Linked DNA regions of Homo sapiens: region 2 is linked to region 1. The links are contacts of gene promoters, found by promoter capture Hi-C in human tissues and cell types (Jung and others, 2019). All regions are on one chromosome and are shown on one strand. Each heading gives the region's core, a stretch centred on a gene start or on the middle of the fragment in contact. The rest is flanking DNA. Distances are from core to core; before and after follow the strand shown.

Region 1 (4,893 bases), core at 1,485-3,984:
CAGGTGTGGTGGTGCATGCTTGTAATCCCAGCTACTTGGGAGGCTGAGGCAGGAGAATCGCTTGAACCTGGGAGGCAGAGGTTGCAGTGAGCTGAGATCGCTCCACTGCATTCCAGCCTGGCGACAGTGAGACCCCGTCTCAAAAAAAAAAAAAAAAAAAAAAGTCAAAATAAGCATGACATATTCAGGGGCAGTACGTCCCACTGCTTGAGTGAAATGGGACGCATCCAATTGTGGGAGATAAACGTAGGATGCTGCCGGATTGTCAGACTGAAGAATGCTGCCTTCTTCCTGTAGGAGCACATGGGAATCTGCAGAAGGTTTTGAAGAGGTAGGTAGTGTGATGAAATCAGACTTTTAAAAACAGTGACCTGACAGCAGTTTTGGGATGGATTTAGGAAGAAGAGAGAAGCAGAAAGAACACCAAGGTAGTGGATGTAGGTATCCAATTTAACTTCTCTAAGCTAGGAAATCAGAATGCTTATAGGATCATGGTGAGAATTAAGTGTGGTGCCTGATATGTGGCCAACAGCAGATAAATACTTGTTCCCTCTTCCACTACTTGGGGTTACTGCAGTGATGGTGCATGTGAAAAATAAAACAGGTTACTTGGGAAAGAGCAGCAAATTTAGCAAATACTTGAATTTTAAAGAATTTAAGAGAGACAAGCAAAGGAAAAGCTAGGATTTCAAACAGAAAAACCAGGTCTTAGGTAAAGAGGGGGAGGTGGTGGGTGTGGGAAGAGTACTAGTTTTGAGGGAAAGATGAGTTGATTTTTGGATATTTTTATTTGGACTTGAAATTTTACAACGATAATATGGATTCAAGAGTCCCTGACATTGAAGAGAAACCCGGAGATATACCTTGAAGCTCAAATTTCCAAGCCCCTCATTTTCCCTGGGCCCTTCCAAGGATACATGTCTAGTATTATGTTTGTAAGTTTTTATTGCTTTCCTTTAAGAAGTTCCCCCAGGAGTTATACAAGCTTCAGGTCCCACGACATCTGGATGGGTTCAGTTTGAAATCAGAAGGTATTTCTTTGGGATACTGGGAGATCGAGAGTTGGAAAAACCTTGTTACTGTCCTCAAAGGAAGAGAAGGGTCAGCAGAGAAGTCCAGAGAAGCATAGAGAAGGCCTTAGGGTAGGATGCTGCCAAGGAGATCAAAGGGATGAGGGGCTGAGAATGGGTCACCAGACTTGACTTCTCAAAAAGTAACTGTTTTAGAGTGCATGCTCAATACAGTTGGGGGGAGGCCCACTGTCACGGGGTTGAGGAGGGAGGAGTAGGCAAGGGGTGTGGACTCCCCATTTAACAAGGTCGACAGTAAGAGAAAAGAAGATGCCACTCAACTCCTCACTTTCGATCTGCTGTAATTTAACTTGAGCCTGAACAGTCAATATTCCTTTGGGATTCATATTAGCTCCCTGAGCATGACATTGTCTTTCTCTTTATTACATTTTCTTATTCCTTAAGATTTTAAGATTTTCTTAATTGGATCCATTTCTCTTCATGCACCATCAATGGCCAAGAAATGGGCTATTGGCAGGCACAGTTTTGGTTTTGGGGTTGATTGGTTTGTTTACACTAATAGTTTCTCTTTCTCGATCCAAGGCTTGACCAAGGAGGTCAGGAATTCTGTCCTGGGAGTTCAGGGACTGAGGACCAGGATGGAGGAAGCAAAAGGCGTCAGGCATTAGGCTGGAAACGTCTTGGTCGGTTATCTAGGATCAAAGAGTCAAAGGTAGCGATGACTTCATCCCCGTAGAGGGCGCCTCCCTACCCCGACAGTGGATTTTCGGTCAGCCGGTTTGCCCGGGATGTTTTCTTTGACTACTTGCTTCTCACTGGCGCCCCAAGTCACTTTGAAGAAAAAAAAAATGTGATTAAATCGATTCCCCTGTTTCTTTCTGTGAGGAGTGTGCCTTTCCCAGACAGCGTGCGTTCATTCGATGAGGCCTGGCAAAATTTTTGAGGGGTCTTTTTACGCTTTAATACAACCTAAAGGTTTCTGTTACCATCATCATTGAGAATTAAAAACAAAAACAAAATAAAAAACGGTAACAAATTTACAGCTTGGCAGGCCCCAGGGAGGAGCTGACCTTTGCGAAGCTCTAGCGCAGCCAGGTTTCAGCTGTAGGGGTTGGGACAGGTCAGTTCGCCCAAGTGCTGCTAGCTCTCCAGGGAGAAGCAAGTGTTGGGGCAGAGGGTGGTCTGGCGCGTGCGTCGGGGGGCGTGTGCGGGTGTGTGTGTGTGTGTGCGCGCGTGTATATAAGAGTGTGTGCGCGCCCGTGTGCACAAGAGAGGGTGCCTGGGAGGCTGTCGCAAAGGCTCCTTTGTGAAAGGCACTTGCAGGTTCAGAAGCCAGCTTGGCGCCTCCTCTCGCCCGTTCCCCGAGGACACCTGGCTCTTCTGGGCAGCCCAGCTATCTCCGTCTCCTGCCGCCCCTACTTCTCTCGGTGGCCCCCGGCCTAGCCCCGCACCAGCCTTCGGGTGCGGGAAGCAGTGTGCCCCGAGGCGTCTCCCCCGGGGCCCCGCGCAGGTGAAGGTGAGCGCGTGGCGGTGACGGTGGCGCGCGTAGGGTGGAAGGGGAGGCGAGGGAGGGGCGGAGCAGGAAAGGGCGCGCTGCCCTTCCCGGCCGGCCAGGAGCAGCGAGGCCGCAGCTTTGTTACCTGAGGCTGCCGCTGCGCCCCGCCCCGCCCTGCCCCCTCGCGCTCAGGGTTGGCTGGGCCTGCAGTGACCGGGAGGAGGCGGCTACGCCGACACAACGGCGGGAGGCTGCAGCGGTCTGCGCGCCGGGAGCGGGGGCGCGCTGGCCGCGGGTGAGTGCGGGTCGGGCGGCCGAGGCGGGGGCGACCGCGGCGCGGGACACGGGGAGCTGGAGCCCCGCCGCTCGGGAGGGTCAGGGTTGGGGTGTTGTCCGGGACCCGAGGCTGAGGCGCCGAGAAGCGCGGCTGATGGGTGCCGGGTCTCGGCTTCCTCCGAGCCTCACCGGGAAAGCTGGAGAGGAGGTTCCAGTTCCCTCCACATCCACCCCGGTGACTTTGGCGGCCGCCCTTACCCGGCCACGGAGAACAGCGATCGGTCCCTGGAGGCGAGGACGCGCCGGTGTGGACCCGCGTCTGGAGAACGAGCTGCATCGCCAAGGCTGCTGCGGGTCGCACCTGGGCGGTTGACTATTAGTCGTGGCTAAGACTTTCAGATCAACCGCCCCCTAGTTTATCCCGACCCTTGGGAGACAGCGGCGTCCCGCACGGAATGCGCAGCCGCGGCGCCGCGCTCGGTTCCCTAGCCAGCCGGGGGCCACGCCTGGCCCCTGACACAGTGGTGGGGCGGTGGCGGGGACCTAGTGCGGTGGTGCGGACCGAGGACCAGGCGCTTCTCGCCCCGACAAACTTGCTCCGGCCGCGCGAAGTTCGGATTGCAAGTTGCGCCCCGCGCCTGCAGGAGTGTGGGGAGGGGGAGGAAGCGGGTGGGCTGGGGATCAGCCTCCAAACAAGGGGTGTCCCCAGCTCTTGGAGAGCGGGTTCTGACCGGTTTCAAACGCCAGGAGTCTCCCCTCTGTTTTTCTCAGCGGCTCGACCCGGCTCCCTTTTGGCAGAGCCGCAGTGCGGCCGTGAGGCTTTTCCCCCGCGCCTGCGACCTGGATGGGGGACGTGGGAAGATGTCGCGGCGGAGGCTCCGGGTGGGTTGGGAGCGCGCGGCCGCCGCAGACCCGGTGTCTGCGAGCCGGAAGACCCCCCCTTTCGTTTCATTCACACGGACACCTCCCCTAGTTAGCCGTCTCCCACCCAACTTCTGGGCGCAGCGTGCTAAACCCCCGCAGAGGGGCTGGCGCCCTGGGGGGCGTGGCGTGGGGAGCGTGGGCTTTCCAGCGTGGGCCCCTCGGGGAGGGGGGCGGGGCCGAGACCCCCTCCAACTGGAGGGGCCGGGAATGGGCGAGCGGGTGCGGCGGCCGACCCAGCAGCTGCAGCCGCCGGACGGGAGAGCGGTCGGCGCTGCGGAAGGCCGAGGGTCGTGCAACGCCCGCGCTGGGCGCCCGCCCCGCAGTCCCCGCCCCGCAGGCCGCGGCTTCTCTCCCCGCCGCAGAGCTGGCGCGGCGCGTGTGGGCGTCGATCTCAGCGCGCACCGGCGCCCCACCCTCGCGCCGCGACGCCCTTCTGCCCGGCGCTGATAAGGACGCAGCTGGGGCTCCGCGCGGCCCGTGGGCCGCCCACTCGCGTTCAGTTTGCTGACCCCAGCGCGGCTCCCCGGGGATTCGCGGCCCAGCCGGTGGCGGCTGAGCCGGTGGCTTGTTGGTGAGTGGCTCGGGCGGGGACCGGGGTGCCGGGTTGGGGATGTAAGGAGGCTGCGGACAGCTGTCTAACGCAGAGAGCTGGTGAACTACTACGTATCCAAACTTGAAAGAAGTGGTGTCCCAGGACCCCCCAGGCCGAATTTCTTCCGGACTTAATGGTCGGTTTTCAAACTTCCGTGTGGACAGAAACGACCTCCGGGATTCGGCCGTCTGTGACCCCCTTCAACTGACCCACAGTTGTCTTCCTGGAAGGAGCAGCCGGCGCTCCCTTCCCTCTCTCTAGAGCATCCTTTGGCACGCATGTGCTTTTTTTTTTTTTTTTCTTGGTTTTGGGACAGTGAGAGAAACTGAAAATGAACATTCAAATACAGGCGTTTTTCCTCTGCTCTCGGGTGTTGGTCTCGGGCGCCTATGAATATTTACATTGTGCTGCAGATTGAAGGCGCTTACTGGGAACGCGTTGTCCTGGGTTCTTTCACTACTGCCTGGAGCACAGGCAGACGGAACTCACAGAAGAGCTGGACGGTCCGGCTCTGGCCCGACTGCGTAATTGTACCGACTGACATTCTGTGTTTAATAATCAAGAAAGCTTTTGAA
Region 2 (4,893 bases), core at 1,594-4,093, 370 kb after region 1:
TATTCAGTGACTTCATATTGGTAGCTTGCAATTGGCCTGGATGAAAGCATTTACACTGCAGAAATGGGAAATGCTACATATCAGAGCTCCCCTGGCCTCCCAGGCTCCCAGTCCTTGCCCTGCCAAGAGCCATATTACTAGGGCAACATATAATTATCCTTACTGTTGAAGAAATGGAAGCTTAGAGAAGTGAAGCCCCTGCCTTTTAAATTGCACAATGATTCCTCTTCATTGAAAATGCCCTTTAACTATTTGGTTTTCCAAAGTTGATATATTTGATGCTTCTAATACTTGAAAACTTAAGTGTATGCCCACTGTGAGTGAGTTATTACATTACTCTAATATTGTATTAGAAAACAATCCTGAATGAGTTTAGAGAAATAGCTTAGAGCATCTGTTGATGATGATTTAAAACACAGGGATTATATTTCCTTGACTGTTAAAGAGTTTGCTGACTAGAAACCATGAGCTGGTTTTATTAGCTATTATACTAAAAAGAGTCATTGAACAAAGGGTAAGTCAGATGATGTGGGAGGGAATGAAAGAATTACAGGTGAATAGTCTCAAATTATTTAATTCATTATACACCATACCTTAATGAGTAGATGAAAAGTTGAATGAAACACTCATTTTACTCTAGAACAGTGTAATTTAAAATGGATGTGTAAAATCGCTTAGCATGAATTCAGAGACTTTACAGGAAAAAAATATATATTTTTTTACTTGTTTCTAAAGTACAAATTCAGTTTATTAATCCGTTTATGACACAGTACACAGGAGGCAAAGTGTTTCACATCATAGACTTCACTTCCAATTCCTTGGAATGTTCATTTCTTTGGCTTACAGGAGAGACTAGACAGGAAAGCCAGGCAATGCTTAGGCAACTAAAATGAGGTTGGGGGCAATGCTAACGTCATCCTCACAGGAACAGCCACAGGGACTGCTAGTCACAAGCGGGTTTTCTAGACCTGTTAGCTGGAAGCATGGGGAGCACCATTTCTGGACGCTCGTGCTGTGTCGGACTTCAGCCATCTCCACCACACAGGTACAGCACCCTTAGTGTCTTGCTGGATGTAATAGTACAGGGACTTGCTATACTTTCTCTTGAATTCAGACCTAATTTTCAACATGTCCACTTCATTGTGGGAGACCATGATTCTGATCAGGACCTTATCTTGAGTCCCCATGCCCATTATGGAGTCGTACAGCCGGTCAGCGAAATACAGGGGCTTGTTCTGAATACACTGGACCAGGTTCAGGAAAGAATTTTCCAGGTCTCCTTTAACCTCTTTCTTGATGCTCTCCAACATGTCATAAGGACTGTAGCTCTTGTACCTATCAAATACTTTCTGGAAGTGGGACATGCTCCGCTCGGTCATGACGCTGATCCACTTGGGAACTTCAGTTCCTTTCCTCTTCACCCCAGCGTCATAGAGATCCCGGGCATCTTGGTCAATCAGTTCATAATCAATGACAGAGCCATCCTCTGCTCTTCTACCCTTTGCCAGGGCAACCATCAGCTTGCAGAAGTCACCAGATGTGTCCGAAATAATGTCCTTCTCCAGATCAGTCTTGTACATTTCCTTGTAGACTCTGTTAATTTCCTGCAGCTCTTGGTTGGTTCTTGAGCAGATGATCTCAATGAGGGAGTCCTTGTTGGTTCCCAGCCCCTTCATGGAAGATTTTAGCTCAGAAGCATCATACTGAGCAGGTGTCTTTAATAGGCCCAAAGCCACTATCTAGGTGGCCAGATAAGGCTGACTTAAGTGCTGATACAAGTTCCTTTTTGGTCCTTCTCTGGTAGGTGAAGGCAATATCCTGTCTCTGTGCATTGCTGTGGTTAGTCAAAATGTTGACAGTGGTGATCTCATCCACACCTTTGGTCTTGATGGCCATTTCAATGTTCAAAGCATCCTGCTCAGCATCAAATTTGGTGTAGGCTTTGACTGACCCAAATGCACTTGGGAGTGTAGAGTGTTCACCCTCCAAGCTGAGCTTGCACAGGATTTCATGAACAGCAGATATTTTGAAGGAAGCTGGGCTGGGCACCAAGACCTGAGAGCGTCCCCAGATGCTGAGCTGAAAATATATTATTTTATGCCCCTCTCCCCTGCCCCACCTCTGCAAACTACCACCTTTCCTCCCTAAAATATATGAGGAGGGAGGTCGTGCTAAGTTGGCATCTTAGGTCATTATAGGACCTTCACCCCATCCTTGAGAATCTCATCCTTGGGAACTCTTCTTGCATTTCAAGTGGAAAAAGATGCAACTAATATTGACTAAGTGCTAGGCACTATGCTGTGTTATAGGGTGCAATGGTGTACAGGACAGATGTTGCTCCTGCCCTCAAGCAACTTACAGTGTAGTGAAGGATACAGACAGTTAAATAAAGTATCATGTGTTAAAGGATGGGGTTTTCTAAAGGATTTTAAAGAGAAAACATGATTCATGTGAGCCCAAAATGTAATTATCTTCACCACCAAAACCCAGAAGAAGCCATGTGTGTATTGGGGAAAAAAGTGTTATGTAAAGGATCAGGAGAACCAGGTTTTATTCTTCCCCCTGTCTCTGATGATCTCGGTAATGTGTCTAGCTTCAACTTTCTCATCTATAAAATGGGGATGATAATGTTTGTCCTGCTATCTCATGGGATGGTATGTGAGAAAATGTACATGAAAGTGCTATAAATATAATTGAACATTTTGTTTTCCAGTGATACAATGGGGGTTGTAATTTACTCACTCATTAATAACTTATTCATGCACTTTTTCATCCAGCAAACATTTGTTAAGCACCTACTTGATTGAAGATCCTGTGTTAGATCTTACACTTGGCTCAGTTTCATCTTGTTGCATGATTCCATTCAAAACATCTAGATTTATTTAGCATTAACTTCTTTTTTTTTTTTTTTTTTGAGATGGAGTCTTGCAGGCTGAAGTACAGTGGCATGATCTCAGCCCACTGCAACCACTGCCTCCTGGGTTCAAACAATTCTCCTGCCTCGGCCTCCTGAGTAGCTGGGATTACAGGCATGCGCCACCATGCTCAGCTAATTTTTTGTATTTTTAGTAGTAGGGATGGGGTTTCATTATGTTGGCCAGGCTGGTCTTAAATTCCTGACCTCAAGTGATCCACCCACCTTGGCCTCCCAAAGTGCTGGGATTACAGGTGTAAGCCATTGTGCCCGGCCAGCATTAATTTCATATTAAGTTGGAGTGGGTGGTGAGAGGAAATCTGCATTTATTGATCCCCTATTTCAGTCTAAGGGTTCACCTTATGTAATCTTCCTGGAGGGGTAGGTGGAAGTGACCAGGAAGAATATGGGTGAGAAGCTGTTGAATTAAAAATTCATTTTGTGCTTCATAGGCTAGACTTGCATCTGGAAAAACAAAATGATTTAATTATGGAATTATAGAATAATTGTTAAATTGATTATAATTACTTTAAAAATTCTTGTTATTCATTCTACTAGCTAATATGTAACCATCAAATGAAATCTTTTACATTAAAGTAGATAGAAAAATATTTTATAAGTATTATATGTGTTTTGTGTTATTTATATTTGTTATGAAAGAACTAGTTTTTATTATATATTTAGAATACTTTAGAGAGAGAGAAGAGACTTTCTACAAATGAAACAGAATTTACTGAAAAGCTTGAAGAGTAAGGCATGATCCCAAATTATTTCTAACTTCTGGAATTGCCTTAAGACACTTTACAAACACTTGAACATTGCAGCATAATGACAATCTACTGTAGTGCTGCATCACCATCAAGATATTTCTAGTTTAACTGTTGGTGAAAATAGTTGGCATCAATTGTCTTCCCAAGTATATGCTAGTGGTGTCCTTTTAATCTTCAGGAGTAACACACTGATTCTGCTGTGCTTTCAGGTAGAGTTTAAAAAATAATAATAATCAATAATCTCCAATACGACAAAAGAGGACCGTAAGAATCAGGAGATGTTACCAGGAATCCCAACCAGCCATTCAGAAACCAAGCCATAGAGCTTAAAGAAAAGATTTTTTAAAAACAAATATTGCAAAATAAAAATGGTAGTGCCTGTTTCGTTTAGCTTCTTTCAAAAATATATAAGCAATGTTAGACAAACAGACATTCCTCTGACCTTGTGATTTAATTTACATGTGGGCAACAGACTTGAGCTCTCCTTAAATTCAAACCAAGAATAAGAGCTGGGCCAACACATTGCCCTTGAGTTCAGCAGAGGTCATGGAACCTCTTTCCAGCAGTGTGGTCTTTTGCAACACAGTCCATTGCTCTTGTGACCTAGTATTAGCAGGTATGGAACATCTCACATTCATGTCAAGCTAAGCATAGAGTCTTCCTTCTCCTTGCTCTGAATGGTCTATTACTATGGAATCCAACTAAATATCTTCCCAAGTTTTAAAATTATACCCCAAAATACAACTATTGCCCATTTCTACTCACACTGAAAAAACGTGTGCTTATTTCTGTAAAGAACAAAAAGTGTTAGTACTTTTTCCTCATATTTTCCCTCCTCCAACATCATGTCCATATTTTCAAAAGGAAAACAGACTCTTTTTGACTAAGACACCTCCTTGACTAGTACTAAAGCACTATTTTCTCTGTTTTTTTTTCTTTTCCTTTTATAAGCTGCTACTGTCTGCATGGTCTTCTGAATAGAATAGGCATCATTCTAGCAGGATAGACAAAAGGCTAGAGGAAGGAGAGCAGCAGGCAGTTTTTGTCCCTACCTGGACCACAAAGACAGTAAATCAGTGTTCATCTATTCTGTTCAGGTGCTTTTTAGCCCCTTCTCTCCTGTTTTTCAGTATTTCTTTCCCTTCCTTGTATGCCCTCTAAGCCTGGGTGCACTTTCAATTTTATATAAGCAAGAATCTAGAATAGCCT

Evidence for each region. The method cuts DNA at HindIII sites, captures the fragments that hold promoters and counts their contacts. A contact is called where the count stands out against the background at its distance.
Region 2: a contact is called between a fragment that was not itself captured here and the fragment with the promoter of FHDC1 in region 1, in 1 of the 25 tissues and cell types used here (lymphoblastoid cells).

What each region holds. Positions count from the first base shown.
Region 1 is chr4:152,933,589-152,938,481 of GRCh38, forward strand. It overlaps FHDC1 (FH2 domain containing 1), which reads left to right and starts at 2,735. Exons shown (of 12, transcript NM_001371116.1): 1 at 2,735-2,821. It overlaps LOC729870 (a long non-coding RNA gene), which reads right to left and starts at 3,249. Exons shown (of 2, transcript NR_136614.1): 1 at 3,061-3,249; 2 at 928-1,862. RefSeq lists silencers at 2,691-2,780, 4,113-4,372. The HindIII fragment of the contact is 7,704 bases long and covers 1-4,893 here.
Region 2 is chr4:153,306,738-153,311,630 of GRCh38, forward strand. All of the region lies in intron 6 of TRIM2 (tripartite motif containing 2), which reads left to right. It also overlaps the pseudogene ANXA2P1. Among named protein-coding and RNA genes, the nearest start is that of MND1, 36 kb to the right of the region's middle. The HindIII fragment of the contact is 6,924 bases long and covers 1-4,893 here.